4 separate regions of the Homo sapiens genome follow, and all the other regions are linked to region 1. The links are contacts of gene promoters, found by promoter capture Hi-C in human tissues and cell types (Jung and others, 2019). All regions are on one chromosome and are shown on one strand. The core of a region is centred on a gene start or on the middle of the fragment in contact, and the rest is flanking DNA. Distances in the headings are between cores, read along the strand shown. Region 1 holds the start of EDNRB (endothelin receptor type B). Region 2 overlaps SLAIN1 (SLAIN motif family member 1). Region 3 overlaps SLAIN1 (SLAIN motif family member 1). Region 4 overlaps LINC00446 (long intergenic non-protein coding RNA 446).

Region 1 (5,807 bases), core at 2,732-5,231:
TTTGTCAACTTTACTGAACTCTATATTCATTAAACTCTAGATTAATGGAATAGATTCACATTGACATTTCTGGGCCTCTGGGCCCTTAGTGTGCCAACAAGAGAGTAGGAGAATTTCACAAACCCCCAGAAATTGTGTATATTGAATTCTCAAAGAGAATTATAAAACCCCACCAAAAAAATTAGAAATCACTGGTTTAGATTTAAGCCTCTCATATTAGGATATATTAAATATAGCCTTCATAACTCATTTAAATTACTTTTTTCTGAATGATCATACCTGACTACTCTGAAATTCTAAATGCATTAAAAAAACTACGTTGCCACAATTATTTAGGAGAATAAATGGCTTTTAACTGGTCCTGGATTTGATATTTTGGTAAATTAAGCCATTAGAATAACTTCCACTGATATTACACACTACAGACCAGCTGAAGGGGGTTTCAAGAGACCGAAATCCTGACTCAAATTAATTTCTGAAAATGTTTACCAAGTATTCTACTGTGGGATAGCATATTATTTGCCATAATTCCACCAAATGCTCCCAAATGAGATCCTAAAACAATACTCAAGGTTGGAGATGACCATGCAGTGCCTGAGCATGCTTTGTGCAGTGGGATGGGGTGGACCACAGGGTCTTGGGCTGGATGATCTGCTTTCAAGCCCCAGTTTCATTACTTTGTAGTGGTATGACATTAGGCAAGTTACTTCTTCACCTCTCTGACAAGTAGTTTGCCTAGATCTAAAGCAGGAATGATAACGATACCTCCTCTACAGGGTTGTTATAGTGACTTAATGAAATAAACCAAGTGCCTAGTGCATCATTAACTGGTAGCCATTATTATGATATTGTGTCTCAAGCTAAACCTAAGGCCACAAGGTAGGATTCAATAATGATGACCTTAGTGATGGGACGTAATGTGATGAATGTGTTTGTGACCCATGTAGATTAATGGATGGACAGATTTATAATGACTCATTGGCTTATTTCAGAAGTAAAAACACAGTCATGTTAAGACTGGATGGCTTCAGGGAAAAGGATGTAACTTCCTAGGGAAATCATATGGGAGTTTGAAATGAAAGGGAAACTGTATGACCTCTTGGGGAGTCAGAAATTCTCTAGTTTATTACAAATACTCATTTAACCAGACAGAGGAAATAAGATGGTTCTGGAAGAGCTGATTTATATCTGTCCTGGAGGCAGCACACCAGAACTAAAAAAATGTTCTCAATCCCACCTTCTACACAGCACTTCAGCTACTGTCTGATTTAGAAAGGTTTCTAACTGGGCTGGACATGTGGGGTTTCCTGACCCCCTAAACAGAACTTTCATAAAATCCTGTGCCAACCTAGCAAAACTAGATTTTAATCTCCCTTTGGGAAGAGATCTTGTTAGATTTATTTTAAATTTATCACAACACCTTGTACTGAAAAGTTCTCAATTCGGTTTTGATGAATTGAATTGAAATTCCTTTGCCAAATTAGAATGGGAAGATTTAGTTTGTGGGACGCCTTAAGAAGTAAAAGGGTCACTTCTGGCCCTCATGGAGTTGTGGCTGCATTTAGAGATTCAATTTCAGCTCTTACCAAGTAAATCCTCACAGTTCATCAGAATCAATTGCCATACAGGATTTTAGGATTTCTTCAATCGATTCCCCCATTTCCGGGGGTGATTCCCTTTAGAGAAAACTATATCCTAATCCACTCTCACCGCTAAACCTCAGAAATGTTCGGAATTCCCCTTAAAATATAGCTATTGGGTTAGGATTTTTAGAGATTTATGAAGGGAAATTTACAGGCATGCCTTATGGTAACTACTCCTGCCAATAGGTCAAAGCATTCCCTACAACATTTCCCAACTTTACATTCCATTTTTTTCCCCTTGTACTGAAGTACTGAAGTCAGGGCTAGCTATAGGCAAATCTGCAAAGCACAATTCCATTTCCTTACACTGTGATTGTGTTTTTATGTGCAACTTTCTATTGCTGCTGCTGCTGCTGCTGCTGGGAAAGTTTTAAATATTTTCATATGTCTTTGAAATTTTCCAACTGTTTTATTTAGACTGCTTTTTTTTTTTTAACACCATAAAGCCTCAGTAAGTGGGCACTGGCAGCCTTATTGTGGAATTGAGGAAACTGAGGCCCAGAGGTGCTGGGATGTGTCTGGAGTTCCAAAGCAACCTGGAGCAACCTGGCTCTTTGTGTGTTTCTACTGACGCCCATGGTAATCACACAATAATGTTAACTACCGAAACCCTTACAGATTTTGAGTGCTCCTTGGTCTTGTCCATGAAATAATTGATGGGGTGCCATCATATAGCTTGCACTTTGGAACCTGACAGATTGGGTCTGATCCCCAGCTCCACCTCTAATTCATTTACTTTGATCATCCTACCAGTCATCTGTAAACTAATTGTAATATCTACTTGTGGGCTGCTGGAAGGAATAATGGAAGTAACACATCTCACCCAGTCCTTGGCCCACTGTAGATATTTAATACAAAGTAGCTACAGTCCGTCACAGCAGGTGAACTGTGTTTTTCCTACTCACCAGTCTGGATCTCTTTTTTCCAGGCCATTTATTTCCTAAATACCTACTTTGTACCTGCTACTTTCAAAGTCTTCCAAAACAGTCCTTCCCAAAGTTAGTGGGCATATCAATCACATGAAGATCTTAAGATGCAGATTCTAACTTAGTAAGTCTGAGGTAGCCTTGCATTCCTAACAAACTCTCAGGTAATATTGATGCTGACTGTCCATGGACCACACACTTTTGACTAGAGGATGTACCCCATTAGGTGCACTTAGGGACTAGATCCTTCAGGACTAGTGGTTCTCAAACTTTACAGTTCATCATAATCACATAAAGGGCTTGTTAAAATACAAATTACTGTGCTCCACTCCAGAGTTTCTGATTCAGTAGGTCTGGGGTGAGGCCAGAAAAATCTTCATGTGCACCAAGTTCCCAAAGTGATACTAACATTGCTAGACTGGGGACTACGCTTGTCCTAAGCTTAGCAGAGGTCTACTGAAGACCTGAATGGAATTTTATTCCAATGGTTACTGACTTTTATGAGTGGACAGAACCAAATGGAATTTGGTTCCAAAGATTACTGACTTTTAGGAGGGGCAGAACCTTAAGAGGGAGCTAAAGGGAAGCTCCCTCTACAAGCTTTCTCATCTCCCCGTCTCCAACCAGGCCCCCTTCCTCAAGCCCACCATGATTTCAGCAGGCGCCCTTTACCTTGTAGACATTGATAGGGATGTCAATGACGATGTGCAGCAGGTCTCCCAGAGCCAAGCTGGCGATCAAGATATTGGGACCGTTTCGCATGCACTTGTTCTTGTAGATAATTCTCAGAAGTGTGGAGTTCCCGATGATCCCCAGCACGAACACAAGGCAGGACACAACCGTGTTGATGTATTTGAAAGTCTCCTTGATCTCGATGGGTCCTTGGCACGGGGGAGGGGAGATGGTGCGTGGCGGAGATCCTGCCGTCCTGTCTCCTTTAGGCACCTCCGCAGGTGCCAACGACCGCGCCAGACTGGCGTTGGAACCCTTGGGCCATAAGGTCTTAGTGGGTGGCGTCATTATCTCTGCGGTTTGCAAAAGCGGAGTGGCCCTGTCAGGCGGGAAGCCTCTCTCCTCTCCCCAGATCCGCGACAGGCCGCAGGCAAGAACCAGCGCAACCAGGGCGCGTCCGCACAGACTTGGAGGCGGCTGCATGCTGCTACCTGCTCCAGAAGGCGTCCGGTGGCCGCTCCGCAGTTTCAGAGCCTAGAGACAAGCAGAGGAAGGAAGACAGGACACTTGGGTCAGCTGCCCGAGCCAAGTCGCTGCAAACGCTAATACCGCCCGCAGCCTCTTCGCCAGTATCCACGCTCAAAAGTAACTCAAGTTTGCGCGCCAGTGGGAAACTTGGCGCTCATGACTCGCCAGCGCGGGTCGAAACTCCTTCCTGATGCCCTCTCAGCTGTTTTTCTTCCCCCGCGTGGCCAGGAGGGGTAAATAATATGCAGTGGGGCGGGGCGTTCTGGAAGGGGTGTGCCAGGGAGGGAATGATGGGGGTCCCAGGCAAAGCTCCGAACTCTTTCACGTAACGGGAGGAATACAGACACGTCTTAGTTAAGCGTGCGTGGGAACCGCGGAATTAAGGCACCTAGAGGCCAAGGGCTTGTGTCAAGCTCTGCATTTTGCCCCGCAGGGGAACCTCTATACCCCGCGATTGAACTCGAAAGACTCCTCCCGGCGGATGAAAGCCGCTACTCCCTGGCTGGCTGAGCTACAGCTCCCGCAGCGCGCCCAGGAGTGCGCCGGAGATTCGGAAACCCGCAGAGACTTCTCAAGTCAGCAGGAACTTGGAAACCGCTGTTCCCTCCAAACGGCTTCAAACACTCGCGCTCCTTCCTTTACCCAACCTAATTTTAATTTGCCCTCTCTATAGGCTTAATTTTTATTTTTTTAAAATCCCAAACTAGTAAGCCAAACCGAAGCCCCAGAATAAGGTTCAATCAATGATTTTAATTCAACACCAAGCCCGAATGTTTACCTCTCGGATCTGACAAACCAGATGCAGAGCGACGAATGGAGACCACCTTCCCGGGAGGCGGAACCCAGCTGGGTTCCAGCCTGCTCTGGGAGAGGAGCACGCCTCCCTTGAGCTGCAGGCGGGTCCGGCTCTGACGAAACGCTGCGAGAATGCCAGACAGTGTAGCCTCCACCGTTTGCTCGGGGTCTCTGCTGCCATCAGACAAGTACTTTTATTCATTCATCCCTTCCCATCAATCACCGCCAGACTCCTCCCGCGCCTTCCGACCCCGCTGCAACCTTTCCCCTTGGGCGATGCCTGGACAGCATCAGTAGTAGTTGCCCGAGGGAGGGGGGCAGTCCTCGTCCGGGGACAGGTCCCAAAAGGCTGTTTATTTGTTAGAGTTCTACGCTCTTCAAATGAACCCAAATCAAGGGCAAGTTATCACGCACCATGTGACACCCGGCAGCTCCAGACTAGAACAAGGCTCTGCACTGAACGTGATAATTGAACTTTTAATGCCAAGTGTCACTTTTCTTTCAGGTAAATGTTCCGCCGCTGTGATATTTAAGGTTGGTTTGTGGGCGCTGCTCTTTGCTCTGCTTCATTTTGCCCTGAAGTTTCATTTCAAGCCAACATTAACCCCAACACGGAACAGCTCGATCTTTTCTTCCCAGGCCCTCTCACTGCCCCGAGAGAGGATTACAAGTACTCCTCATTTTCCCCAGTACAGCTCTTCTCCTCTCTTCCTGCCACAGTATCGGTGTTAGGCAATCTCAGGCATTTTTATACTGTACCTATGACAGACTTGATGCTTATCGGAGACATGAAAATAATCAGAAAGCTGCCATGCAAATTCAACATGATATTTATTTACCAGGTAGAGCAATACAATAAGGTCTTTCTATCCATTCTTGAGCTCCATGTTTACCGCAGAGAGGAAAATAACAGCGACTGGTAGTTTTGCCCAGAGATTGTATAAAAGAGGTCAGGAAGTCAGGCTTGGAGATGCACTGGAGAGTACTGTGCCGTCCTCCAATCAGCAAAATCCCTACTGGATCTGTGGAACTTCAAACCCAGAAGCACCCATTCCATGTAGCAGTTTCACCCAGAGACAGGAGGCTCGTTTTTTGCTTCATGTTAGTTAATGGAATAGATGGGACAAGAACCTTGGATTTTTGGCTCTTAGGCAATGCTTTCTGGGACAGTGGAAGTAGAAAATCAATTTCTATTTAAAAAGGTGAACTTTAAGTGTGAAATGTGGTTAGGAACATGGTTACG
Region 2 (5,769 bases), core at 2,904-5,403, 150 kb before region 1:
AGGACTACAGTGCATATCACCACTCCCAGATAATTTGAAAAAAAAATTGTAGAGACAAGGTCTTGCTATGTTGCCCAAGCTGGTCTTGAATTCCTGGCCTCAAGTTTTCCTCCTGCCTCGGCCTCCCAAAGTGTTGGGATTATAGATGTGAGCCACTGCACTCAGCCAAAGATTCTTTTTAAATGTTTTGCGAATATGATAGGCAAATCTTCAATTACTAATAAGGTTTTGAAAATGTCTTCATATTCATTTGCTGTTTGTATTCAACAGAGTAACCATTTATGTTTTTAGGTCATTTTTCTAGCCAGGATCCTATATTTTTCTTATTTTAAAATATGTTTTATACATTAAGGGTATTGGCCCCTTTATTTATGTTGCAAATTTTCTTGTGCAAATACAACATGCATGACACTTTGCCATGAACTGGGGCTCTGGGAGATAAGCATGCAGTGAAGACCCGTAAGTGTGAACCACAAGGTACACTTGAGATGGTGCCAGTGGCTTCTCATTACTGCAGTGGAAGAACATAGATGGGAGAGTAGGTCAAAGTGAGTGATGTGACTCATAGGATTATTAACAATCTCTCTCTCTGTTTTTCTTGTCTCTTTTTAGTTTTCTTCAGCCTCCAAAGCCTCTGTCTTCACTCAGCACTCTGAGGGATGGAAATTGGAGAGATGGTTGCTACTAATGCAGTTTTATGTACCCTTGAAAAATGGGAAAGAAGTAAAAATGAGGGTTGTGTTACCTAGCTGGCTGGGTAGCAGTGGATGTTGGGATATTCTTTCCCTTTTGTGTTTTAATATATTTACTGCATTGTTTCTCAATGGACCAGTCACCAGAGACTAATTATTGCACTTAAATATTTGCCTGAGATACTGCAACATTCTCAAACCCATGGTTGCAGTATTGTGACACTTAGATCTAGGAAGTTTTTGTAGAACTGCTCTGTACCTGAATACTTTTTGAGAGAATTAAGATGTATCAATAATGCTTTGCCATATGAGTTTTTTAAAGTAACTTGTTCAATTTACTCACGTGTTCTAAACATCTTTCCATTACATGTTCTGTATTTTAATACATTGCATATTGACAACTAGGTTCTATAATGTATGCTTTGAAATTTACTTTTTTATAGTTTACAGGAATTTTATTTTTTGTGCCTATTTCTTTTTACACCTATGTGAACCACTATGGAACAACTTAAATTTTGTGCCATAAAAATATTTTTGTGGTAAGGTACTATTTTTTTAGCTCTAGGGATATATCAGCAAAAACACATCATGCAATTTGAGACACATAATTTTGTGTTGAATGAGCACAACATAATTTGAAGCATTGCAAGGAGATAACCAGACAGCAGAATTAAATGGTCCTGTCTTTTTCATTTTTAATTTATTGTCATACATGGGTTTCATATTTATAACGGCATCATGAGCTCATTGCACTTAATACCTGCAATGTTTGCTACTGTACCACAATTGATTTTCAATACTTTATTACGAAGGATGAAACTGTAATGTTTTATTAACAATGCTTCTGGAAATGAATGCATTTTAAAGCAAATAAATCTTTTTGATAGACCTTTTACAAAATCCATTTGCACTAATGAATGCTTTCTTATGGCATATAACTTAATATTTGTTACTGTGTACACTGCTGTTTTGGAATGTTCAGAAATAAAGACTCTATTTCAGCAATATCAGGTCATGCATGAATGTACAGCATAAACAGTGTAACTACACATGTGTTTCACTACAATTGTGAAAATGCTTATTGTTACTCTGTTCTTGTGCAGGGCATTTATATCTCAAGCAGGTAGACTTAGAATATTCACATTTGTAAAATTATTCTTCTTTTCCCAAGTACTCCTGATAAGAATTGTATGATTTTTCTTACATTAGTTTTAGTTAGGTAGTTTTACAGGGAGGTTTAGGTCCATTTAAAGAGGCCACTAAAACTCACGCAGCATGTTGCTGAGAAACACATTTACAGATGAACATTGTCAGTGGAGATTTTAATATTTTATAGGAGTTGAATTTGAAATACTTTCTCAGTATCAGTAAAATAGCAAGTACTATCCTTATTCTGCATTATATTTGATATATGTTGGAAAACTTTACTTGAAGGTACTGTGGGAAGTTTAGGCAAAGATTTTTAGGTTAGGTTTTGAAATGGAGTTCTACCTATAGTCATTAGAGGTTTTTAGTTTTTTTAAAGTGTACCTTTGTATGTAATTCTCTCTAGAACTAAAAGGAATGTTTGTTTAAATAACTTGCACTTTAAGTGGAATGTGAGCTAGAGGAGGTAAGATATGAAAAGGGAAGTAATATTTATTAAGCACCCCTTCAGTCAAAAGAACTGTGCAAGATATTTTATATACATTTGTCTAGGACTAACTTTCACCTACTATTATCACCATTTTAAAGATGAAGACACTAAGTCCCACAGAGGTGATTATTTGTCAGTTTTTGCATCACTATAAAGGAATACCTGAGACTGGGTAATTTATGAAGAAAAGAGGTTTAATTGGCTCATAGTTCTGCAGGGTGTACAGGAAGCGTGGTGCCAGCATCTGCTTGGCTTCTGGTGAGGCCTCAGAAAGCTCACAGTCATGGCGGAAGGCAAAGGGGGAGCTGGTGCATCACATGGTGAGAGTGAGAGCAAGGGGTGGGGCGGGGTTTCTACACTTTTTAAAAAAACAACAAGATCTTGTGTGAACTCAGAACAAGAGCTCACTTATCACCCAGGGGATGGCACTAAGCCGTTCATGAGGGATCTGCCCCCATGATCCAATCACCTTCCACCAGGCCCCACCTCCAACACTGGGGATCACATTTCAACATGAGATTTGGAGCAGACAGATATACAAACCATATCGTTCTACCCCGGCCCCCAAGTCTCATGCCCTCCTTGGATTGCAAAATGTAATCTTCTCTTTCCAACAGTCCCCCAAAGTTTTAATTCATTCCAACATCAAGTCCAAAGTCCTAAGTCTGATGTGAAACTCATCTCCTTCCACCTATGAGCCTGTATTATGAAAACAAGTTATTTACTTCCAAGATAATGGTGGTACAGGCATTGGGCAAACATTTCCATTCCAAAAGGGAGAAATTGGCCAAAAGAAAGGGGCAACAGGCCACATACAGGTCTGAAACCCAGCATGGTAGTCATTAAATCTTAAAGCTCCAAAATAATTTCCTTTGACCCCATGTCCTCCATTCAGGACACACTGGTGCAAGGGGTGGGCTCCCAAGGCCTTGGGCAGCTCTGCCTCTGTGGTTTTACTGGGTGCAGCTCATGTGGCTGCCCTCATGGGCTGGAGTTGAGTGCTTGCAGCTTTTGCAGGCTCAGGATGTAAACTGCCAGTGGCTTTACCATTCTGGGGTATGAAGGGCGGCAACCCCCTTCCCACAGCTCCACTAGGCCATCCCCAGTGGCAATTCTGCAGGGGGGCCTCCAACTCCACATTTGCTCTTAGCACTGCCCTGGTAGAGGCTGCTGTGAGGGCTCTGCCTCTGTGGCAGGTTTCTGCCTGGCCACCCAGGCTTTCTGATGCATCCACTGAAATCTAGGTGAAAGCTGCCATGCCTCCTTCACTCTTGCATTCTGTGTACTTTCAGACTTAACACCATGTGGAAGCCACCAAGGCTCATGACTTGCCCTCTAAAGAGGCAGCCCAAGGTGTGCCTGTGGCCCTTTGAGCCGAGGCTGGGCCCAGAGTGGCTGGGATGCAGGGAACGATACCCTGAGACTGCACAGCGCAGTGGGGCCCTGGGCCTGGCCCCTTAAACCATTCTTCCCCCATAGGCCTCCTGAGCCTGTGATGCATTGGGCTGCCTCAGAGATTTCTGAAATACATTTGAGGCCTTTTCCCTATTCTCTTCGCTCTTTTTCAGTCATGCTGATCTCTCAAGTGGTTACTCCACAGGCCACTTGGATTCCTTCTCTACCACAGGGCCAGGCTGTGACTTTTCCAATTTTTTTGTTTTGTTTTGTTTTGTTTTATACAGAGTCTTGCTCTGTTGTCCAGGCTAGAGTGCAGTGGCATGATCTCAGCTCACTGCAACCTCCACCTCCTGGGTTCAAGTGATTGTCCTGCCTTAGCCTCCAGAGTAGAGTAGCTGGGACTACAGACATTCACCACCACACTGGCTAATTTTGTATTTTTAGTAGAGACAGGGTTTTGCCATGTTGGCCAGGCTATTCTCAAACTCCTGACTTCAGGTTGATCTGCCTACCTCAGCCTCCCAAAGTGCTGGGATTACAAGGTGTGAGCCACTGCACCCGGCTGACTTTTCCAAATTTTACTCTCTGCTTCCCTTTTAAATATATATTCTGACTTTTAAGTCATCTCTTTGCTTCTGTATCTGATTATAGGCTGTTAGAAGCAGCCACAGCACTTCTTGAATGTTTTGCTGCTTAGAAACTTCTGCCAGATACCCTAAGTCATCTTAAGTTCAACCTTCCACAGATTCCTAGGACATCGGCACAATGCAGCAAGCTCTTTGCTAAGGAGCGACAAGGGGGACCTTTACTCCAATTCCCAATAAGTTCCTCATTTGCATTTGAGGCCTCTTCAGCCTGGCCTTCACTGTCCATATCTCTTGTCAGCATTTTAGTCATAACCATTCCAATCAGTTTCTAAGAAGTCCCAAACTTTTTCTCATCTTCCTGTCGTTAGCCCTCCAAACTCTTCTAACCTCTGTTACCCTGTTCTAAAGCCACTTCCACATCTTCAGTTATCTTTATAGCAATGCCCTACTCCTCAGTACTAATTTTCTGTGTTTATTTTTTTGCATTGCTGTAAAGAAATACCTGAGGCTGGGTAATTTATAAAGAAAAGAGGTTTAACTGGCCCACAGTTCTGCAGAGTGTACAGGAAGCATGGTGCCAACATTTGCTCAGCTTCCCAAGAGGAGTCAGGAAGTTTACAATAACGGCAGAAGGCAAATGGGGAAGTCAGTGTATCACACGGTGGGAGGGAACAAGAGAGAGAGGGCGGAGGTGCCAGGCTCTTTAGAGCTCTCATGCGGACATATTACCCTGGGGAGGACACCAAGCCATTCAAGAGGGAATCTGTCCCATGAGCCACAAACCTCCCACTAACCCACTTTCGACACTGGGGATTACATTTCAACATGAGATTTGGAGGGGACAAAATATCCAAACCATATTAGTGACATTAGTCTTGGGTAAACATTTAGCAATGTTTAAATAGTGCAGCTTACCTTTGAATCCAGGTTTATCTGGCTCAAAAGTCTTATTTTTCCCCACAACTATGCTCTCTTCCAATGAACACAGGTAGCTGGTATTTTTTTTAATCACTTTTTATTCTGCAGAGAAAAAGGATTCGATTCGTTCTCCATTCAAATGTTTGATTTATATTCAAAAAAGTCTGCTTAGCCCTTGCAATAAAATAACAAAGATCCCTTCATCTTGGCTTTTACATTCTTGTTGGGGAGAAACCATAAACAGGTAAGAAAATCACTGCAGGTTAGGTCATAAGTTCTGTGGGGGAAAAGAGGAGATCAAGACAAGAGGAGTTAAGAGAAAATAGGGGTGGGGAGAAATCATACTATTAAAAGGGTCACCTCAGTAGATATTAATATAGGAGTTAAATTATTTAGGCAGTTAGTGAGGGTACAGGAGTCTTTGGTAAGGTTTTCCTTTAATGAAAAGGCAGCCCCCAAATCATTTCTTTTCTAACAAAAAAAAAGCAGCCTGAAAAATCAAGCTGCAAACATAGATAAGCAACTGGAAGCTTGCATA
Region 3 (3,970 bases), core at 1,471-3,970, 220 kb before region 1:
CATTTTCATTGAAATCTTATTTTCAGAGACTGACTTGCTTTTTAAAATGGGGTGACCTCACTGGCTTTCCCATAAATAGTGCCAATAAAGAGGACTTTTCTTGGAGTGGAATGAACAGGTGGGAGGGACTTTTTTATTTATTTATTTATTTTTTTACCTAGGAACCAACGAACTGTCTTTAATTTTTTAAATTAAACTGTAGAAGAAAAGTGAGATTAGAGAAGCCTTATTTTCTTATTTCTTGGAAACTTTTTAGCTTGGTTATCAGAAAACTTGAGGCTGACAGCATTTATTCAGTTGACATCTGGTTAGCACTGTCTACTTTCCATGAATGAGTAACTTTAGGGGGAGGCTTGCTGTAGTCCTTCTTTACTTTAGGTCCTTTTTATGTAGGACCCTTTCTGTTTTTCCAAGCTGTGTTTTCATTACTTTCTTTGTGTCTCTGTTGCATGATTGCATGGAAGGGATTGGGAAATGGAGATCCTTACTGGTTTCCTATTGGGAACTGCAGTGTTCCTTTTCCCTTACACTCTGTCATGTGAGAGCTCTAACTGTAAAGTACATTAGTTAATTGGTTTCATTCAAGAATCAAAATATATGGAGTTACAGTAAGCCTTTCAGAGGTGTATTCATCATCCACCTTAATACTTTTTGGCAGCTGTGCAGGTAGCTCAAGGTGTAAAAAAATCAAACAACTCATCACTTTTGGGAACTTTAAGCCATTTTTTCAAAGCTGCACCCTTATTTCTGTAAAGTAATCTCAGTTTCAGTCTGAATGTGGTACTAGAAAATGCTCTCATGATGGTCCTTAGATTTCACTAATAACTCTCAGCCCTTATGCCACTTTCAAATTATTTTAGGTTGATTTAGTCCCTACTTAGCCTTTTCTGATGGTATGTATGTAAACAGTGGAAGGAAACTTGTTTACATTTTTGATGGGGAGATATATGGGATCAGTTTTATGCTTAAAATATTTGCATTTTAAAATTTATTGTGATATTGTTTGTAAATATGAGATTAGTAATCTATTAATAACTTTCCTTCTTTTGAATGGATTTCTGTCATATTTAGTTAGCATCCTATTACTAGCATTTTGGTACCTAGGCTTTCTTTTTATAGTTTAATTTTGTCCAAATAGCATTGAAATAATCAACTTTAACAGAAATCACCCACTTAGTGGTATTAGTATATTAGCTCTTCAGATGGTTTGAAGCAAATCAAAGTTGAAGCAGGTTCTATTTCATTCAACAAGTACACAGGTGAATAAATCAAAGCCTTGATGCTTTACAAATGTTTCTAGAGACAAATGGCAGAGAATCTTCCTGAAAACAAGCCTGAGATTAGAATTCCAGGTGGAAAAACAAGGAGGGTTCATTAATCTTAGTGGGATGGTCTTAAAAATTTTAAAGTTACCTGATTTACATAATTTTATTATTACATTTTATGCATCAAGATTTTGTTTGCATTGCAAATCTTTTTGATGAAGAAAATATCAACAGGGTTTAATTTTTAAAGTTTAACCCACTTGTTAATGCTTGCAAAGCACTCTGTTCCTTTATCACTGCAGACTATAGTGTCCCAGTAGTGTGGTCTCAGAAATAAGAGTGCTGTTCATTTGGTTCCCTGATATGTTTGCAGGATGGCAACTTATTTTTATTTCCTGTGTTTATTAAGAAACAACTGGAGTGGGTATATAGTACCTTATTTTAAAAATATTTAAAACTACAAGTTTTACATGCTCATTGTAAAAAAACTAAAACATAGATGTAGGTATAAGGTCACAAAAATTATCTTCCTTGTCCCCAATTTATTACCGTGACTCAGAATTCACCCTGTTAATACTCTGCAGCTCCTTCAAGATAAAAAAATATAATTACAACAATCAATATACAAACATATACACATCAGTTTTTTTTAACACTTGCCTTTCATTGAACATACATTGGACATTTGTGTATTCATGTGACATCACATCTCCCAGTAACAAAGGCATCATTATTAGAGTAACAATATTAAGGAACAAGTTACTGTTAACTGTATCACCTACAGTTTTTCATGCATTTTTTATTGTGATTTCATCCTAATGGGTTGAACAAAATGTGTTTGCTTATTTATTTAGAATAGCACTTCCTGCTAAAAATGTCATAAGTTCAGGAAAGTTTACAAATGTAGATTAATCACTGGATATTTTAGCTATTCTTTTATGTAAGTATATCTTTTCTAATAAAACCTTAGAATACATTATTTTCCTTTTATTAACAACTTGGACAATATTTGGGTTAAGAGTTATGTGTGTAAGGAAAATCATGACTAACAGAACCAATATTTTCTTTATGATAGTTCATTAGTTAATGATTAACCAGGTCTTTGAGATCATTTTTCTGAATAATTATTTAACCTATAAGTAGTATCTTAAAAAAAACAGCTTTAAAGAGAATGGAGTGTTATGCTCTCCCTTTTGACAAAAAAGCTTTGATGAAACAATTTTCTTATTTCTTTGAATATTTATCTTAATTGAATTTTAAGTCTTGAATGTTGCCTTAATACTACCTGATTATCTTAGCACAGTATTGCTGGAATTAAGTGTCTCAGAAAGTTAAAGTTGATGGCAATTCCAGAACCTGAATTCTTTCTTTCTTTCTTTCTTTCTTTACTTATTTATTTATTTTTTATTATTATACTTTAAGTTTTAGGGTACATGTGCACATTGTGCAGGTTAGTTACATATGTATACATGTGCCATGCTGGTGCGCTGCACCCACTAACTCATCATCTAGCATTAGGTATATCTCCCAATGCTATCCCTCCCCCCTCCCCCCACCCCACTACAGTCCCCAGAATGTGATATTCCCCTTCCTGTGTCCATGTGATCTCATTGTTCAATTCCCACCTATGAGTGAGAATATGCGGTGTTTGGTTTTTTGTTCTTGCGATAGTTTACTGAGAATGATGATTTCCAATTTCATCCATGTCCCTACAAAGGACATGAACTCATCATTTTTTATGGCTGCATAGTATTCCATGGTGTATATGTGCCACATTTTCTTAATCCAGTCTATCATTGTTGGACATTTGGGTTGGTTCCAAGTCTTTGCTATCGTGAACCTGAATTCTTAAGTCATCTTATAGCCCTATAGTAAAACTCTCATCCTGCTATACTGATTCCTCAGTTATCTTACTAATTTGATAGGCTTAGCTCTCCAGAAGGCCATTGGCTAGAAAGGAAAAGGGAAAAGTCTGAGTATCAGGAGCAAATAAAAAGCTCAAAGGGACTAAAATATCCATGCATACATGGGACACAGTGTGATTGGATGCTTTTTCTATCTTTATGGAAGAAATGTTTTTAAGATTTATATTTGTCCTAATGTCACCAGGCTCTGCAGCACCAGAGTACAAACAGAGTAATTCAGATTGGTCTGAAGTGGCAATGGGAGCCATTAGCTAACTGCATACTAGACCTTCCTATGACCTGTTTCAGCCCTCTTATTTCAGTGTTGAGGGACGGGAGCTCTGAGGCAAAATGGCTTATGTAAGCTCTTCTAGTTACTGATAGAGTTCAGACTAAAAATCAGATTATTTGTCCAGATTCAGAAGTGTTTACATCACTGATATTTTTTTTTCCCCAGAGCTAGCTGTGTAACTCATTAGTAAGTTTATAAAGTCAATTTAGTGGATTGACCAGCATTTTAAAAAAGTGAAGTGCAGTAGAATAGAAAATCAGAGTTTATCACATCTTATAATACAATGCTTGCTTTGATTAAATATGTTTTAGTTTTATAGATGTGGAAATATTAAACGTATTTTTGCATTATGATCAAAGTTAACAAAACTCTATACTGTTTGAAAGCAAAACGGAGAAAGCAGGTGGAAAAGCACTGAAGATAGTATAGTACTCTGAAGGGAAGTTAGGTCTTGCACACCTCAACCAGGAAGATGGTTCTATATGAGAAAATGCCACGATAAAAATAAG
Region 4 (5,515 bases), core at 2,734-5,233, 130 kb after region 1:
CTCCATAGACAAACCACTCTGCTTGTGTGACCTTCAGCAAGGTACTTAACCTCTCTGAACCTCAGTTTCTTCATCTGTAAAATGAGGATAACAGTACCTATTTAAAGAGTTGTTGTTAATATTCAAAGTTTTAATGTACTTAAAAATAGACTTAAAATTAGCTGTAAGAGGACTGGCAGATATAAGCTTTAAATAAATAAGTGCTACAAAGCATACAGTAATTGCATTTTTCTCTTCATATATGGTTTTTTAGTTTTTAATGAATGTTTTCATATATACTATTAATTATAAAATTCCTGTGAAATATTCATTGTTACCCTATTTTTCGCATATGGGAACTGAGCAAAAGGGGTTGTTCAAGGCCACTCCACCAATAAGAGCCAAATTTGGAAGGAGAGTGCAGGTCTCACAGCTGCTGCTCCAGGATGCAACCCGTTGTGTTGCACTGTCCCTTGATAATTGGATTTTAATCAGGTCTGTGGATAAGTCTCACACACACACACATACACACACACATGCAAAACAGAACTTTGGATAAGATACAAGAAAAATGATCTCACCAAGAATGTACTTTAGTGAGAGGAAGCAGTTACTTCAACATAGACAAAGGCGAACAGCAGACAAGGAGGAAGCAATTAAATAGAAGGAGTCCACTAGTTTGTTTCATTTTATTTATCATTATATTGAGCATAGTGTCATTCAGAGGCTACCAGAAAGACCCCCACCTTTGAGCCTATGCTAAGGGGATCCTGGAAGCCTTCGCCAGGGTGGCTGAGCCACTGCTGTGAGGTGAGCAGAGCCTCAGACCCTGACACCCTCAGGGAGAAAGTAAGGGAGTGACTGTCAATAATTAAACCATCTGTAACCCTTTATATTGTTTTGGTTCTCAGAAACAAATCAAGGACACCACACATAGAATGTAAATTGGCCTTTGTAGTCTTGCCCCCTGGTATAATTAGCAGATGCTCTTTCTTAATGCAGGCCAGTTCAGGGGAAATCTATTTGCATAATGAAACACACTATTTCCATGTACACTGAAACTCAACTTCTTCAAGTTTCTACGTTCTTCTTGTTGGGACTACTTGGAAAAGAAGTATTTTATTATTGTGCATCCCCAGAATAGAATCTCTAGACCTGGGAATCCCCAAAATATAGTAGGGATAAAGAACCATTTTTAAAAATATCAGCAAATGAAAGAGAAATGTATTAAGTGTTGTAAGCGATCCTAAAGGATAGCTAAGAATCTTAAAGGATTCTTTGCTTTGATATGCAATCATGGAACACTGATAGCATGAGTGAAAAAATGTAACTTTAATAAATATGGTGTCTTTGGAAGAACAAATGTTTCAAAATGAGGCATATAGAGGAGAGGGGAAGAGAGAGAGAAAGAGAGAAGAAATATTAAAAATATTTTCTTAGTAGATAAAGGGAGGTCAGAGAAGTGATTTTCAGGTAGAAGAGATAAAAAGAGATGAGGGCTTAGGGAACCATAAAGGAGGAAATGGTATAAGAATGAGGGCGTTGTCGCAAAGACTTGTCAAGGTCTGGAAAATGTTTCAGTGTAACTATAGAAGAGAGAGATGTTAAATTTTGCTTGACTACCTAAATCTTCTCTTGCTTCATCTGCCAAAGTACGCTTCACTGGAAAAGAAGGGAGACCTTTCTAGCAGGTCTTCTACAGGATTTCTTTGCAATAAAAATATACAGAAGTAGCACACATGTCCACCTGTAAGCTGGCAAATTGCCAATTAGTAGAAAGTCTATAAGTAAATTTAGCTAAATATAAAAGAGTACAACTTAAAGTACAATACATTCAAGTTAAGAATATAAAACTAATATATTGTTTAATAGTAGCTATGATGAGATTATCATAGCCCAGGTGGTACTATTGAAATATTGAGAGTAAGATGTGTGTCCATGTTTAATGTTGTATACAGTAGGATTTTTATTAAAAACAAAAAAACTAAAAAACCTGTAGGCAACTTAAATTTTAAAACATAGATAAAATAGATACATATATTTTTTATTATTATTATCCTTTAAGTTCTAGGGTACATGTGCACAACGTGCAGGTTTGTCATGTATGTATACATGAGCCATGTTGGTGTGCTGCACCCATTAACTCATCATTTACATTAGGTATATCTCCTAATGCTATCCCTCCCCCCTCCCCCAACCCCAGGACAGGCCCTGGTGTGTGATGTTCCCCACCCTGTGTCCAGGTGTTCTCATTGTTCAATTCCCACCTATAAGTGAGAACATGCAGTGTTTGGTTTTCTGTCCTTGTGATAGTTGGCTCAGAATGATGGTTTCTAGCTTCATCCATGTCCCTACAAAGGACATGAACTCATCCTTTTTAATGGCTGCATAATATTCCACAGTGTATATGTGCCACATTTTCTTAATCCAATCTATCATTGATGGACATTTGGGTTGGTTCCAAGTCTTTGCTATTGTGGATAGTGCTGCAATAAACATATGTTTGTATGTGTCTTTATAGCAGCATGATTTATAATCGTTTGGGTATATACCCAGTAACGGGATGGCTGGGTCAAATGGCATTTCTAGTTCTAGATCCTTGAGGAATTGCCACACTGTCTTCCACAATGGTTGAACTAGTTTACAGTCCCACCAACAGTGTAAAAGTGTTCCTATTTCTCCATATCCTCTCCAGCACCAGTTGTTTCCTGACTTTTTATTGATCGCCATTCTAACTGGTGTGAGATGATATCTCATTGTGGTTTTGATTTGCATTTCTCTGATGGCCAGTGATGATGAGCAATTTTTCATGTGTCTATTGGCTGCATAAATGTCTTATTTTGAGAAGTGTCTGTTCATATCCTTCACCCACTTTTTAATGGGTTTGTTTGATTTTTTCTTGTAAATTTGTTTAAGTTCTTTGTAGATTCTGGATATTAGCCCTTTGTCAGATGGGTAGATTGTAAAAATTTTCACCCATTCTGTACTTTGCCTATTCACTCTGATGGTAGTTTCTTTTGCTGTGCAGAAGCTCTTTAGTTTAATTAGATCCCATTTGTCAATTTTGGCTTTTGTTGCCATTGCTTTTGGTGTTTTAGTCATGAAGTCCTTACCCATGCCTATGGCCTGAATGGTATTGCCTAGGTTTTCTTCTAGGGTTTTTATGGTTTTAGGTTTAACATTTAAGTCTTGAATCCATCTTGAATTAATTTTTGTGTAAGGTGTAAGGAAGAGATCCAGTTTCAGCTTTCTACATATGGTTAGCCAGTTTTCCCAGCACCATTTATTAAACAAGGAATCCTTTCCCCATTTCTTGTTTTTGTCAGGTTTGTCAAAGATCAGATGGTTGTAGATGTGTGGTATCATTTCTGAGGGCTCTATTCTGTTCCATTGGTCTACATGTCTGTTTTGGTACCAGTACCACGTTGTTTTGGTTACTGTAGACTTGTAGTGTAGTTTGAAGTCAGGTAGCGTGATGCTTCCAGCTTTGTTCTTTTGGCTTAGGATTTTCTTGGCAATGCGGGCTCTTTTTTGGTTCCATTTGAACTTTAAAGTAGTTTTTTCCAATTCTGTGAAGAAAGTCATTGGTAAGTTGATGGGGATGGTGTTGAATCTATAAATTACCTTGGGCACTATGGCCATTTTCACAATATTGATTCTTCCTATCCATGAACATGGAATGTTCTTCCATTTGTTTGTGTCCTCTTTTCTTTCGTTGAGCAGTGGTTTGTAGTTCTCCTTGAAGAGGTCCTCACATCCCTTGTAAGTTGGATTCCTAGGTATTTTATTCTCTTTGAAGCAATTGTGAATGGGAGTTCACTCATGATTTGGCTCTCTGTTTGTCTGTTATTGGTGTATAGGAATGCTTGTGATTTTTGCACATTGATTTTGTATCCTGAGACTTTGCTGAAGTTTCTTATCAGCTTAAGAAGATTTTGGGCTGAGATGATGGGGTTTTCTAAATATACAATTATGTCATCTGCAAACAGGGACAATTTGACTTTCTCTTTTCCTAATTGAATACCCTTTATTTCTTTCTCTTTCCTGATTGCCCTGGCCAGAACTTCCAACACTATGTTGAATAGGAGTGGTGAGAGAGGGCATCCCTGTCTTATGCCAGTTTTCAAGAAAATTTTGTATAAAAATACTGCTTACTCAAATTGGCCCCAGTAGAGAGAATATCTAAAGACAGCAATTGCCATAGAAGAAAAGGGGAAGCAGCTAACAAGCTCCATCACAATAAAAGCTTTAGACTTTGATGGCTTCACAAACTTCTTACTTCATTCTCTAAAGTGCACGTTAAACATCATATAATCTCAATGCACCTTAAGTCTTTCCAGTCCAGGGGAAAAGAGGTTAAACTTTTATTTTTATAAAATCAGCAAAATATTTTCTTCTATAACCTGACAGATTCAATGAAAAAAGAAAACTGCAGACCGATCCCATTTATAAATATCTGCATTAAAATCTTAGATCAATTACTAGCAAATAGATTTATTTAAAAACTCTATACATTATGACCAAGTAAGCTTTATTCTAGGAATTGAAGAGTCGTTAAATATCAGGAAGTCCCATTAATGAAATCTAACACATTAGAGTTAAGATAAAACACCTCATGCTTATATCTGCTTATATAGACACAGAAAAGGCATTTGACAAAATTCAAAATCTATCATGTTTTAAAAAAGTAAAAGGATCGAATAAGGTTGGAATTGATGGATTAAGTCCTTAATTCAGCAGTATATGTTATATAACTTCTATTCTAATAACCATCACTTTATTTCACAGGGGAATATTTCTTGCAAAATTTATAACAAGACCAGATATGTGTTTACTTATATCATAGATAAAAAGTCAATGTCTTTTTATATAAATAGCTTCTAAAATACAGAAGAGGCCAGTAATCCTATAGAAAATGACCTGATTCTAAGCTAGTTTGTCATTAAAATAATAATAGATTAAAATAAAATGATTTTCTGTAATTCTAAAATGAGCTATAGAATATGAGCAGAGTGAATTGATAAGTTTAAATATTTGTGAATAATGTGAAAAAAATGCTTAGTCTCACTCACAATAAGCAAAATACAGATTAAGAACATGATTATTCCAGTCTAGCCAACATGGTGAAACCCTGTCTCTACTAAAAATTAGCCGGGCCTGCGGGCATGTGCCTGTAAGCCCAGCTACTCGGGAGGCTGAGGCAGGGGAATTGCTGGAACCAGGGAGGTGGAGGAGGTTGCAGTGAGCCGAGATTGCGCCACTGCACTCAAAATTATGATCCAATTTCTGATTTATCAATTTGAAAGATTTCCCTAAATTTGACAAGTACTCTGTTTGAGAGATTATGAGTGAACATGCAATTATATTTATAACTGAAGAGAGCGCAAAAATATAAAACCCAATGGAAGGAAATTTAGCAATATCTAGAATAATTGCATATAAATTTATTCTCTGACCAAGTAATACCAATTCTAGGAATCAATAAAAAATAAAAGGCTTATGCTCAAAGCTGTTTGATACAACACTATTTCAAAAG

Evidence for each region. Contacts are between HindIII fragments. The study calls those that stand out against the background at their distance.
Region 2: a fragment that was not itself captured here is called in contact with the fragment with the promoter of EDNRB in region 1 in 1 of the 25 tissues and cell types used here (aorta).
Region 3: a contact is called between a fragment that was not itself captured here and the fragment with the promoter of EDNRB in region 1, in 1 of the 25 tissues and cell types used here (hippocampus).
Region 4: a fragment that was not itself captured here is called in contact with the fragment with the promoter of EDNRB in region 1 in 2 of the 25 tissues and cell types used here (H1 embryonic stem cells and spleen).

Annotation. Positions count from the first base shown.
Region 1 is chr13:77,914,850-77,920,656 of GRCh38, forward strand. EDNRB (endothelin receptor type B) reads right to left here and starts at 3,982. Exons shown (of 7, transcript NM_001122659.3): 1 at 3,242-3,982. The coding sequence starts at 3,724. RefSeq lists promoters at 3,911-4,983, 3,973-4,087 and a cis regulatory region at 4,339-4,348. The HindIII fragment of the contact is 11,006 bases long and covers 331-5,807 here.
Region 2 is chr13:77,762,533-77,768,301 of GRCh38, forward strand. It overlaps SLAIN1 (SLAIN motif family member 1), which reads left to right. Exons shown (of 7, transcript NM_001242868.2): 7 at 613-1,697. The coding sequence ends at 688. Among named protein-coding and RNA genes, the nearest start is that of EDNRB-AS1, 54 kb to the right of the region's middle. The HindIII fragment of the contact is 6,663 bases long and covers 823-5,769 here.
Region 3 is chr13:77,699,106-77,703,075 of GRCh38, forward strand. All of the region lies in intron 1 of SLAIN1 (SLAIN motif family member 1), which reads left to right. Among named protein-coding and RNA genes, the nearest start is that of MIR3665, 3.0 kb to the left of the region's middle. The HindIII fragment of the contact is 6,253 bases long and covers 1-3,970 here.
Region 4 is chr13:78,045,618-78,051,132 of GRCh38, forward strand. The region is part of intron 5 of LINC00446 (long intergenic non-protein coding RNA 446); the gene reads left to right. Among named protein-coding and RNA genes, the nearest start is that of OBI1-AS1, 6.5 kb to the right of the region's middle. The HindIII fragment of the contact is 3,556 bases long and covers 2,206-5,515 here.